2 separate regions of the Homo sapiens genome follow, and region 2 is linked to region 1. The links are contacts of gene promoters, found by promoter capture Hi-C in blood cells and fetal thymus (Javierre and others, 2016). All regions are on one chromosome and are shown on one strand. Each heading gives the region's core, a stretch centred on a gene start or on the middle of the fragment in contact. The rest is flanking DNA. Distances are from core to core; before and after follow the strand shown.

Region 1 (6,369 bases), core at 3,870-6,369:
AACCTATTGAACCTATTAAATTAGGCCTTACTATATATATATGATTAGTATCTGCCTACAAAATGTTTATTTATCATCATTAAGTATCTGACTATAACCAATTCTCAGTCAGGTAACAGGAAATTTTAGGCACAAATTAATTCTAAATCTCTGGTGTTAGATGAATGAAAATCCAAATATGATGAAAATACTGGCTGGGCACAGTGGCTCATGGCTATAATCCCAGCACTTTGGGAGGCCGAGGCGCATGGATCACTTGAGGTCAGGAGTTCCAGAACAGCCTGGCCAATATGGTGAAACCCAGTCTCTACTAAAAATACAAAAATTAGCCGGGCGTGGTGGTGAGCGCCTGTAATCCCAGCTACTTCAGAGGCTGAGGCAGGAGAATCACTTGAACCTGGGAGGCAGAGGTTGCAGTAAGCCAAGATCTCACTGCTGCACCCAGCCTGGATGACAAGAGTGCAATTCTGTCTCAAGAAATAAATAAATAAAATAGAAAATACAAACTAGGCACTAATCATCTCTTATCAGTATAATACAAATCGTTATTCTACAACTAATATTAGTTATTACTGTTTTTTCCTTTTATTCCTAAAAACAACTTAAGAATAAAAGAAGTGTATTTTTTTGTGTAAACTTACTGACAAAGGTCCCCGAATAGGTAAGAAAGTATGCCTGAGTTTCCTTCTTAACATAATATTATCTTCAGCCTACTTTTATTATAAGTGGAGGTGGTAATGAGTAACTAAATGAATTGAAGGGGAAACAACCGAAAAAGAGAAGAAAGGATAAGATCCTAACTATATGAAGGGTATTTTTTCTTCCTACTTGTAGAGAGGGAAAGATAAAAAGAGAGGTTTAAAGCAAGCAAGAGATAGTAAAGCACGCTATGTGAAAACATCTCCTTCACATATTTTATTATTTCCTAGAAAGATTAGTAATTTAATGTTCGTTAAGCATGCAAATAATTCTTAGGAAGCCGTACCTTATGTTGTCTTATATTACTAGATCCACAAATAACAGGGACAAGGTTTCTGTCTATAAAGTTACAATTTACTTGGAGATAGAAGATATATACACAAATAACTGTAATGCAAAGCAAAAATGGTAAGAAAATAGAGCTGACTCACTTCATGGGAAGGGAGGGGCTGGAGAAACCACTACTAAGCTTGGAAATTATGTGATGTTTGAAGGTGCAGATGAGTACTGAAGGATGGTTGGGAATCCCAAAGAAGCTGACAGAAAGTATATATGCAATCATATTTGGGGAACATGTCCAGTTTGGATGCAGCACAAGGTTTATGAAGGGTAACAGTTGGAGATACAACAGAAAAGACAAAATGGGTAAGGATCATGAAAAGTTTTAGACAGCAATGAGTACATATATTATTAAATAAACAAAGGAGTGTCATAATCAGAGCCATACTTTTGCAAATGTTTTATTAAATATCTATGTTTTGGTGATATAAAGGTGAATAGAACCAGCAGCTCTTGACCTGTTAGGGGTGTGTCAGTTTTGGTCCTGTTTGACCTCAAACACGTTCTTGACCCTTCTGTCGCTCTCTACTGTATGACATAAAGCTTGACTCTATATAGGCAATGTTCCCCAAGCTCTTCTGTCGGCCTGCTACTGGCTGGGCTCAGTAAATAGGAAGCACTGGTGGGAGGCTGGAGGGCAGGAGGAAGCAGCCATATTTTTCCCCCATTCCCTTTCTGCCTCAGTAGAGTCTCCTCTAAGACTACCACTCCCTCATCAGACAAGTCTTCCACGTTCCGCAGTCAAACCAGCCTCTTGATTGCTTCCTCTCTCCTTATCCTTCTCATTAGCATAGTGGCTTCCTACTGTTGCTAACCACTGAGATGCCTTAGTTGTAAGCTGCTGGGCGTCTTAGCTTTTCTCTCACCAGTGTAAACGAATTCTCTCATTAAATCTTTCCATGTTAAATACTCAGAATGGTTTCTACTTTTTTTACTGCATGCTGTCTCATACAGAAGGTAACAAATCTATTCAAGAAAACCTTCACAGATGATAGTTTTGGGGACTCCCAGAACTCTTGAAGCTTGTCCATTCATCCATGACTAAGACTACTAATAAAACAAAAAACCAAGTAAGTTTCAAATTGGGAAGATGAAAAAGTTCCAGAAACTGATGGTAGTGATGGTTGCAGAAAAATGTCAATATAGTTAACACTACTGATCTGTACATTAAAAACAAACAACAACAACAACAACAACAACAACAAACTCATTGTTTTGGGCTTTAAGAACTATACATTTTTAAGTGTTGAATTTTGTTAGTATATTTTATCAAAAAAAAGTAAACACACATCTACAATGAGACATGATAAGGTTGTAACAGAAGTACAATGCTATGGCAACATTTAAGAAGTACTGACTGTACTTGCTGAATGAAGTTTCAGAGATCAGGCATGACCTGAACCTTGAATAGAAGTGTACTAGGAAGACAAAGAGAAGTAGAATACATACAAGAATTTTCAAAGAAACTTCAATTCGTTTGGCATGTCTGCAGCATAAAACAGATGTTAGGAAGTTGAGATCAAGTTGGAGAGGTAGGTAGGATCAGTTCCACAGAGCACCTTGAATAAATAGATAAAAACTGAACTGATGGCCCAGAGGCAACAAACACTTTGATGTATTCTGGCCCACACAACATTTTGTAAAATCCCAGCAAGGCAATAAGGGCTACTTAAGTGGAGTAGTGAGATGCAAAAGTCAGAGTGCAGTATCCTGAAGGATAAAAGGTAGGTGAAGAACAGCAACTAAGTGGAATTCATTGTTCTTTGAATAAATTTGACTTGTGAAAGGGTGACACAGAACATAAGACAGAATGTTCTGTTTAATGGGTGTCTAATGTCTAGTGGGGTCCAGAAAAGTGTTTTTTTGTGTGTATGTTTAAGAATTTAAAAAAAACCTAATTATCTGAACACTAAGGGGAGAAAACTTAACTTCTCTATGTTCAGCAATTGGCACAGTGTTTGGAACATACTAGGCACCCAAAGATTTGCTAGAAAAAAAACATTATGAAGGGACCAATAACAAGAGGAGCTGAAGATGGCGAGGGGGTACTGATAGGAAAAGAATCATGAGTAAATAATAAACCTCATATGAGAAAGATATACACGATATGTATCTATTTAAGATGTAAAATGATAAACGACAAAAGTAAGAGCATTAGGCATGGGGAGGCTTTTTTGTATTGTATACTCCTGCCCATCTGAAATTTTTAGTAAGAATAGAATTATCTCAACTTTCAGACTAAAAGGTATAGTGTGAAAGCTTCAGGGAGATTTGTAACAACAGTAAATAAAATGAATTGCGAGGACAACTGTCTGGGAAGCCATGACAGAAGTCCAAAAGAGAAGTAATGGCAGGCACATTGCGGGATTGGTGGCAGTGAAAATGGAATGTGAATGACAAAGATTTTTAAGATAAGAAAACCATGGCTGGCGTTTTTTGTCCATTAAATGAAAAGCAGGAAGTCAGCAGAGTAGCTGGTTTGTGGAGAAAGAATACTCACACATCGATGTGAATTATTTCAATTAGAAAATGATACTGCTTTCTTAGGGCTTTCTTAACTAGGGGTGATTCTGCCCTCCAGGGGACATACTAGCAATATCTAGAGACATTTTCACTGATCACAACTGGGTAAGGGTAGGGTGGGGAACGGGTGTCCTACTGTAATCTAGTGAATAGAAGCCAGGAATGCTGCTAAACATCCTACAATGTTTGAGCACAGGATAGCTCCCCACAATAAAGAATTATGAGGCCCAAAATGTTAACAGTACTGAGGCTGAGAAACCATGTTTAAGACTATAGTTACCGAAACTCAACTAGATTACCAAACTGCCAAAACTCAGAATTCTTAAGCAAAAGATTAATCAGACATTAACAAAACATTAAACTTGTCATTAAGTTTCTTCAAAAATGGATGGTGGAACCATTTCCGTTTAACGTTTCCTGCAAAATGTGCTTATCAAGAGCCCTGCGCAAATAACATTTTTGTGGACAGCGCTGGGCATTTAAAAGAGGCACAAGACAAATGGGTTTTCCGAACAATAAAATAATAGTAGTAATGGCTGTGAATACTATGGGAGGTTTCATCACAGATGCTTGCCATTTACTTTTAGGGACGTCGCATACGACGTCCGTAAATTACTGGCTCGGGTTTTGAGCTTTACCTGGCTCTCGTCCCCTGTAGTACAATCCTCTTTATTCTTTCAGGGGACAAACAACAACAAAACCCGTCTCTCACACAGACAATACACCCTGACAGACAAGTGACCCACAAACAATCCCTCCTCAAATGAAGGTAAAACTAGGGCTAGAAAACGTTCAACTAATTTAAGGCAATTAACCCTCTGAAATTTTTCGCTGATCAAAGGAACAGGAATTGCTGTTTTAAAATATGCAACTGGCATTTCACACCTCTACACTGGACGACGTATTGCGTGGAGGATGGAGAAGGAAGATCACCCCTACTCCCAAATTCGTAGTTATAAGGGCGGGTTATTAGAAGGGCGCCAGGAAGGTCTCTCTACAAAGATGGGGGGCCGGGGAACTCCCTATTTGCCCTATTTTGGTCCCAACACTGAACCAAGGAAATTGCGCCCAAGGTTGAAGCACACGCAATCCGTCCGTCATGCAGACAAATGCTCTTTCAGGGGTCCTAATTAAGTGTGGAGGCCTGACTTTCCTTCCGAATCCGCCCCAGGTGTTCCACCCCGAGCTTCCCCTCGGGCTTCCCCTCGCCACGCAGCCTCTGAAGAGAGGAGCATCTACATACAAAGAGGCTTAAACTGCCCAGAACCTCCGAATGACGAAGAATCACCGCCAGTCTCAACTCGTAAGCTGGGAGGCAAAACCCCAAAGCTTCCCTACCAAGGGAAAACCTTTGGCCTCAAAGGTCCTTCTGTCCAGCATAGCCGGGTCCAATAACCCTCCATCCCGCGTCCGCGCTTACCCAATACAAGCCGGGCTACGTCCGAGGGTAACAACATGATCAAAACCACAGCAGGAACCACAATAAGGAACAAGACTCAGGTTAAAGCAAACACAGCGACAGCTCCTGCGCCGCATCTCCTGGTTCCAGTGGCGGCACTGAACTCGCGGCAATTTGTCCCGCCTCTTTCGCTTCACGGCAGCCAATCGCTTCCGCCAGAGAAAGAAAGGCGCCGAAATGAAACCCGCCTCCGTTCGCCTTCGGAACTGTCGTCACTTCCGTCCTCAGACTTGGAGGGGCGGGGATGAGGAGGGCGGGGAGGACGACGAGGGCGAAGAGGGTGGGTGAGAGCCCCGGAGCCCGAGCCGAAGGGCGAGCCGCAAACGCTAAGTCGCTGGCCATTGGTGGACATGGCGCAGGCGCGTTTGCTCCGACGGGCCGAATGTTTTGGGGCAGTGTTTTGAGCGCGGAGACCGCGTGATACTGGATGCGCATGGGCATACCGTGCTCTGCGGCTGCTTGGCGTTGCTTCTTCCTCCAGAAGTGGGCGCTGGGCAGTCACGCAGGGTTTGAACCGGAAGCGGGAGTAGGTAGCTGCGTGGCTAACGGAGAAAAGAAGCCGTGGCCGCGGGAGGAGGCGAGAGGAGTCGGGATCTGCGCTGCAGCCACCGCCGCGGTTGATACTACTTTGACCTTCCGAGTGCAGTGGTAGGGGCGCGGAGGCAACGCAGCGGCTTCTGCGCTGGGAAATTCAGTCGTGTGCGACCCAGTCTGTCCTCTCCCCAGACCGCCAATCTCATGCACCCCTCCAGAGTGGCCCTTGACTCCTCCCTCTCCTCACTCCATCTTTCCTGGCCTCTCTCCGGGTGCTTAGCGGACTTGGCCAATAACCTCCTCCTTTTAAACGCCCTGAATTGAACCCTGCCTCCTGCGCATCCTCTTTTTGTGTCACCTTAGGGTTCAGATTTAACTACGCGACTTGACTAGTCATCTTTTGATCTCTCTCTCGTATTTAGTACTTTTAGTCAGCGAGCATTTATTGATATTTCAACTTCAGCCTCGCGGTTAAGAGCTTGGGCTCTGGAATCATACGGCTGGAATTGGAATTCTGTCAGTCGTGTGGCCGCTCTCTACTGTCTTGTGAAGATAAGTGAGATAATCTTGACCTGTGGTGAGCACTCGTGAGCGTTAGCTGCTGTATTTACCAGGTACAGATAAGACAACTACAGTGGATGATAATGTATGTGGTGATAGGGGAGTACTCTGATGGTAGAGGAGTGACTTTGGTTCTCTGCAAACTCAGCCTGAGACTATCAATTCAGTTTGTGGTGAGACCTCGCAGTGTTACCTTGGCAGATGGTAGAAGCCTTCCAGATGGAAGGAAAAATGCGTGTAAAGGCACAAAGTGT
Region 2 (6,369 bases), core at 2,404-4,903, about 14 Mb before region 1:
CTCTTAACAATATGTATTACCATGCTTCTCCACTAAAATATGTCTGTAAGGAAGTACCCAGTACAGTATGTCTGTAAGGAATATTCCATTAAAAGGAATATAGTGTCGCTGTCAATTACATTTTTTTTTCTTTTGAGATGGAGTCTTGCTCTGTTGCCAGGCTGGAGTGCAATGGTGCAATCTCGGCTCTCCCGAGTAGCTGGGACTACAGGTGTGCGCCACCACGCCCAGCTGATTTTTGTATTTTTAGTAGAGATGGGGTTTCACCATGTTGGCGAGATGGTCTCCATCTCTTGACCTCGTGATCCACCCACCTCGGCCTCCCAAAGTGCTGGTATTACAGGCGTGAGCCATCACGCCTGGCCTATTTACATATTTTCATTAAACTCAATTTTCAGAGTCATTTTCAGAGCACATGGATGATAGCAAGCAAGAATCTACCACCAGTAAAGAAGAGGAAACAAATATTATAAGTTCCATAGTTCCTTCAACACAAGATATTTATCAGCGGCAGAACTCTTCAGACGTTCATAAATCTCTGTTGCCTGCAGTGGATGAAACTACATGTGGTCACACACACTTTCAGCAAATGATAGACAAGTACATTAATGAAGCAAATTTGATACCTGAAAAAACAGATTTGCAAGGTAAAATTATTTTAAAGCAATACTTTTATGTAAATTAAGTTTTAAATTTTCACCTTTCATCATTTTAAATTTTATGCAGTGATTGTTTGAGCTTCATGTTCTTATGGCCTGCTACAACACCGTTTTACCACAGAATATATTGAGGGCATTTAGTGAGAAAGGGGATCTGGAACCAATTAGACTCACTGAGGCACATTTATAGGAGATTAATTAGCAAATCTTCCTTTGCCATTGCAGAGTTAGCTATTACGGCTGAGGCGGTATTACTGATAAATAAGAGCAGGAGCTCAGAAATCATACAGTTCTGGATTTGAGTCATAGCCTGACCATTTCCTAGCTGTAAAACCATGGGCAAGTTACTTTTTAATCTTTTATAAAAGAGGAATATTATAGATTAAATGAGATAGTGCACATAAAGCACAATGTCTGGCCCATAGTAACACTGAATACAGTGAGCCTTTTTCCTTTTTTAAGCTTATACTGAAGCAGTGGTTACATATGTCCTGTTGATCCTCATTAGCCTCATAAGGCTGTGGAAATGGAAATTCGTATTTGTCAAAAGTTTGTTCATACCTGTAATCGTAGCACTTTGGGAGGCTGAGGCAGGAGGATTGCTTGAGCCCAGGATTTCAAGACCAGCCTGGGCAACACTGAGACCCCATCTCTATTTTAAAAAAAAATTTTTTAAATTTAAAAAAATTAAATTTCTCTAAAAATAAAACTTAAAAAGTTTTGGTCACTGAGAGGATCCATATTTTGGACCTTTGAAATAATCATGATAGGACTTAACTTTAAAGCATCTGCTGATCATGGGGGAAAAACTGAAGTTTTTGTTACACTGGAGTTACCTGAAAATAAGCGTTTATGAATATGTTCTTAATACTCCTTTTCTAGTGTTTACCTTAAAAATAAATTTATGATTTTTTTCCCTCAAAAATTCTAACAGTTGACCTTGACTTTCCAGAATTGGAACACATTTTTCCTAATTTGCATCATCAGCTGTTTAAACCCTTAGAACCACATCCAGATTTTGACTTATCATCATCATCCTCTGGGATTTCTCCAGACAACAGAGACTTTTACCAGGTATATTAAAGTAGATGTCCCATTGCAGTGAATATCTAAAAATAGTTTTAAGCCATTTCTTCTACTGGAACAAAAGTTCTTCTAAACCCTTACCTAGAATCACATGGAAGTCTGGGCACAGTGGCTCACACCTGTAATCCCAGCACTTTGAGAGCCCAAGGCGGGCAGATTACTTGAGGCCAAGAGTTCGAGACCAGCCTGGCCAACATGGCAAAACCCTGTCTCTACTGAAAATACAAAAATTAGCCAGGTGTCGTGGTGCGCACCTGTAGTCCCAGCTACTCGGGAGGCTGAGGTGGGAGGACCACTTGAGCCCAGGAGGTGGAGGCTGCAGTGAGCTGAGATCGTGCCACTACACTCCAGTCTGGGTGACAGAGCCAGACCCTGTCTTTAAAAAAAGAAACAAACAAACAAACAAAAAGAATCACATGGAAAACTTAAATAAAAAATAAAAATAAATCCTATTGTCCAGACTACACCCTAGACCAATTAAAGCAGAGTTTCTGGGAGTGCTCAGATAGTACTAATTATTATTATTATTTTTTAAGCTCCCCAAGTGATTCTAATGTGGAACCAACTTTGAAAACAGCTGCATTGGGCCGGGTGCGGTGGCTCATGCCTGTAATCCCAGCACTTTGGGAGTCTGAGGCAGGTGGATTGCTTGAGGCCAGGAGTTTGAGATCAGCCTGGCCAACATGGTGAAATCCCATCTCTACTAAAAAACACAAAAATTAGTTGGGTGTGATGGCATGCCTGTAGTCCCAGCTACTCGGGAGGCTGAGAACCGCTTGAACCTGGGAGGCAGAGGTTGCAGTGAGCCGAGATCGTGCCACTGCACTCCAGCCTGGACAACATAGTGAGACCCCATCTCAAAAAAAAAAAAAGGAAAACAGCTACATTAGAATTTTGTTTGTCCCATCCACCTGTCTCCACCTAGGGAGTATGATGCCATAAAAGGCTTAATAACAACTTTTAGTTGTGGAACATATTTAAACAGTAAAGTAAATACAATTTTGCAAAATTTAAAGTATCCTCCTACACAGTCAAAGGAGCTGAGATTTAAACCTGAGTCTTTTTGCTTCCACTTCCTGATGGCCTGACATTTTAAAGTCTCTTTCATATTGATTGAAAAGAACTGGATTTGAAAAAGCAAATCATTGCTGTCATAGTGAAGTGATAATTAAGGAAGAGTAATACCAAAGGAACACAATGATTATTGTTTCAATTGTTAATACCTAATCAGTATTTCAGCCTTTCCCTTTTGTTTCCTGCCAGAGATCAGATTCTTCATCTGAAAGCCACTGTGCTACTGGATTATCCAAAAGTACAGTTTATTTCACAGCACTGAGGAGGACCAGCATGCATTCTTCTCTTAACACAAGTCCGAATCAACAACCTGACACTAACTTGGCTCATGTTGGAGCTCACAGTTTTGCTACAGAAAATATTATTGGGGGTATGTATGACTAAGTTAGAAAAAGTTAATTTTTCCATGATTTTTTACATCCATTTCCTTAGAAATTAAGCCTAGCACCTCTTGGTTTGTCTTCACCCCTGCTCTCACCCCTATCCTGGGTGTTAAAAAATATTTAAATTACAGAAGTAATACATGCATTTTTTTAAACAATACTGAACATTATGAAATAAAAGGAAAAGTGTTGCCTCTTGTTCCTCAATTTCCCTACCTCAATCATTATGTGATAGTTAACAGTTTAAGTATTATTTTTTTGTTTGTTTTTTTTGTTTTTGTTTTTGTTTTTATTTTGTTTTTGAAGACTGAGTTTCACTCTTGTTGCCCAGGCTGGAGTGCAGTGGTGCAATCTTGGCTCACTGCAACCTCCGCCTGCTGGGTTCAAGTGATTCTCCTGCCTCACTCAGCCTCCCAAGTAGCTGGGATTACAGGCATGTGCCACCACACCCAGCTAATTTTCTATTTTTAGTATAGACAGGGTTTCACTATGTTGGTCAGGCTGGTCTAGAACTCCCGACCTCAGATGATCCACTCGTCTTGGCCTCCCAAAGTGCTGGGATTACAGGTGTGAGCCACCATGCCCAGCCAGTTTAAGTATTCTTCTTAGGCCAAGTATAGTGGCTCACGCCTGTAATCCTAGCACTTTGGGAAGCTGCGGCAGGAGGATCCCTGGAGCCCAGGAGTTCAAGACCAGCCTGGGCAACATAGAAAACAAGTATTCTTGAGCCTTTGGTACAAATGATTATATATACACACAAACATACATGAGATACACAAGGATGTACAAATTATATATACACACATGGATAATTGAGATACACATGGATGCTTTATTCTCTTTTCTGTTATTAAAGTCATATTCAGTTCTTATAGAGGAAAACATCCTCAGTTTATAGCCATATTGTCCTTATTAAATATTAATAGAAAAAGAAAAAATACTTGGTGTGAGCTGTAGTTTGAGAAATCACTGTGACCATCCTTATCTTTGTATTCATGTTTATACACATCAACTTTTATGCCTAAAATTGTAGGTTACTTGCAATTGGATGATAAACTATTAGAGACTGTCAGTATCCAACTTTTACAACATGTAACGATGATTAACTGATTTTTGAATTTCTTAATGCAGGATCTGAACAATGTTTTGAACAGCTTCAGCCAGAATATTCTTCACAGGAGGAGAGCCAGCATGCTGATCTACCAAGTATTTTTAGCATTGAAGCAAGAGATTCTTCCCAAGGCATGAAAAATCAGAACTATCCCTCTGAAGAACATACTGAAATATTACAAAACAAGAAAAAAATTGTTCATTTCCAGCTTTCTATAGGAAACTTAAGTTCAGTCTACAGTTCATCTGATGAAGCTAATGTATTTGATCAGTTAAATGTACAGCATAGCACTCCATGTGGTTCTAACTCTAGTGAGTGCTCAACAAAACACCAACTAGAAAGCAGAAAGGAAAGTATGGGCTTTGAAGAACTATCAAAAAGAGGGGTTGTTACAATGTTACAAAGTCAAGGACTCATTGAAGATAATAAAAATGAAACCTGTAGGGTTTTAGACATAAATCCACAGGTAGAGGAAACTGACTCTCGATTATGTGTAAGAACAGTGGAGATGGGAACTTCAATTCAGGCACCATATTCCTTAACTACTCAAAATGAAAAATATTTTGAGAATTCAGCTGAAACAGACATTCCAAAAATCACCAAAAAACTATCTCAACTAGGAGAATCAGAGCTTTTTGCAAGTTCTGGATCATTTTCATTACAGAGCTCTATACCAGTCTGGGTAAGTGAAATCAGTGTTGTATAAATAACATTTAAATTCCTTTTTGGGAAAAAACTTTTTTCTTCTAAAATTAGAGATGAAGTTCCCACTATGCTACCCAGGCTGAACTCAAACTCCTAGGATCAAGGGATCCTCCTGCCTCAACTTCCGAAGTAGTTTGGACACACCACAATGCCTGGCAGGAAAAACCTGAAACAAAATACAAGCAAAACTGCTTGTTAATATTGCTATCCAGCTTGTGATCACTAGAAATATCCAGCATAATGCAGAAACTTAAAAATTTGAAAACTGTCTTCTGAGAGTATTTTACAAAAGATCCTTTTTCTCCCAATTCAGATATCCTTTCTCCAACTTCCCTGAAAAATGGTGGTTCTGCCTGTGCTTCAGCACTTTCAGTGTTGAGCCTCATTCCAGTGCAATGAATTCATCCATTATTGGAATAAGTATTGGAAACCTGCTCCTCATATTAAGCAACTTATAATCTGCTTGCTTTCAACACCAGTCAACTGGTGACTGGTTTTCATCTAGCAGTATGTGCAGTTTATCCTTCCACAAATAAACATAACAGATTGAAAATAAGAATTACAACTAAACCACGTTTTATGTGGCTGCTTTTGTTCTTGTTGTGTTTAGATACTTTTGAAACATTATCTGTTAGCAGTCAGTGGCCCACATTTGGTAGCAGCCCAGTCGACCCCTGCTCCCTTTAAAGGATACAATTCGGCACAGCCAACCTGCATTTATATTTTTTGCCCAACACTACAAGCATTTAGGTTTGTAATCATTGTGGTAGATACCTTTCAGTCCATTGTCACACTATTTCATCCCCTCCCCAAAGTAGGCTCCAGTATTTCTACAACTGAATGCTGGAGTTATGGAAGCCTAAGGAAATCTGATCTGTTGGTCTTTGCCAATCATTGCTTTTCTTCCTCCATTTTCACATTTATATACACTTGCAAAAAATGTGCATTATATACAAAACGATTAGTTTAAGTCTTTTAAGGCTATTTTGACATGGTTTTCCTTTTAATTGTGGTTCACAGGAAACAGAAACTGGCCATGGTATAATGGAAGAACCAGAACTTACTTTAATAAGCACCACTGATACCAGTATTGCTGAAATGGATTTTGCAAATTTAACCCTAGAAGAGAAGAGCGAGAATGAAGCAAAATGCTTCTTTCAGGTAAATTTAAGCTTTCCTTCTATTTTATTCTATTACAAGCAAACCAGTTGATTTGTCTCTTACAACTTATCAGAAGGTACTCATTGGAGGGAATTATGCTATGCATTTAACTAAGCCGACACCCCCACCAGCTCTCAATTTGTCTTAAACCTTCACTATTCTGTCAACCATTGTGCATTTTCTTTTAATC

Evidence for each region. Contacts are between HindIII fragments. The CHiCAGO score rates a contact against its expected background, and 5 or more counts as called.
Region 2: a contact is called between a fragment that was not itself captured here and the fragment with the promoter of NPAT in region 1, in 1 of 17 cell types (total B cells). The highest score is 6.8, in total B cells.

Annotation. Positions count from the first base shown.
Region 1 is chr11:108,217,519-108,223,887 of GRCh38, forward strand. NPAT (nuclear protein, coactivator of histone transcription) reads right to left here and starts at 5,120. Exons shown (of 18, transcript NM_002519.3): 1 at 4,982-5,120. The coding sequence starts at 5,018. It overlaps ATM (ATM serine/threonine kinase), which reads left to right and starts at 5,549. Exons shown (of 63, transcript NM_000051.4): 1 at 5,549-5,668. RefSeq lists enhancers at 834-978, 1,539-2,040, 5,016-5,075, 5,486-5,645, 5,956-6,035 and a cis regulatory region at 906. The HindIII fragment of the contact is 4,203 bases long and covers 4,889-6,369 here.
Region 2 is chr11:93,722,643-93,729,011 of GRCh38, forward strand. It overlaps CEP295 (centrosomal protein 295), which reads left to right. Exons shown (of 30, transcript NM_033395.2): 21 at 399-647; 22 at 1,612-1,733; 23 at 3,009-3,189; 24 at 4,334-4,995; 25 at 6,039-6,179. Among named protein-coding and RNA genes, the nearest start is that of SNORA25, 4.8 kb to the right of the region's middle. The HindIII fragment of the contact is 5,069 bases long and covers 1,120-6,188 here.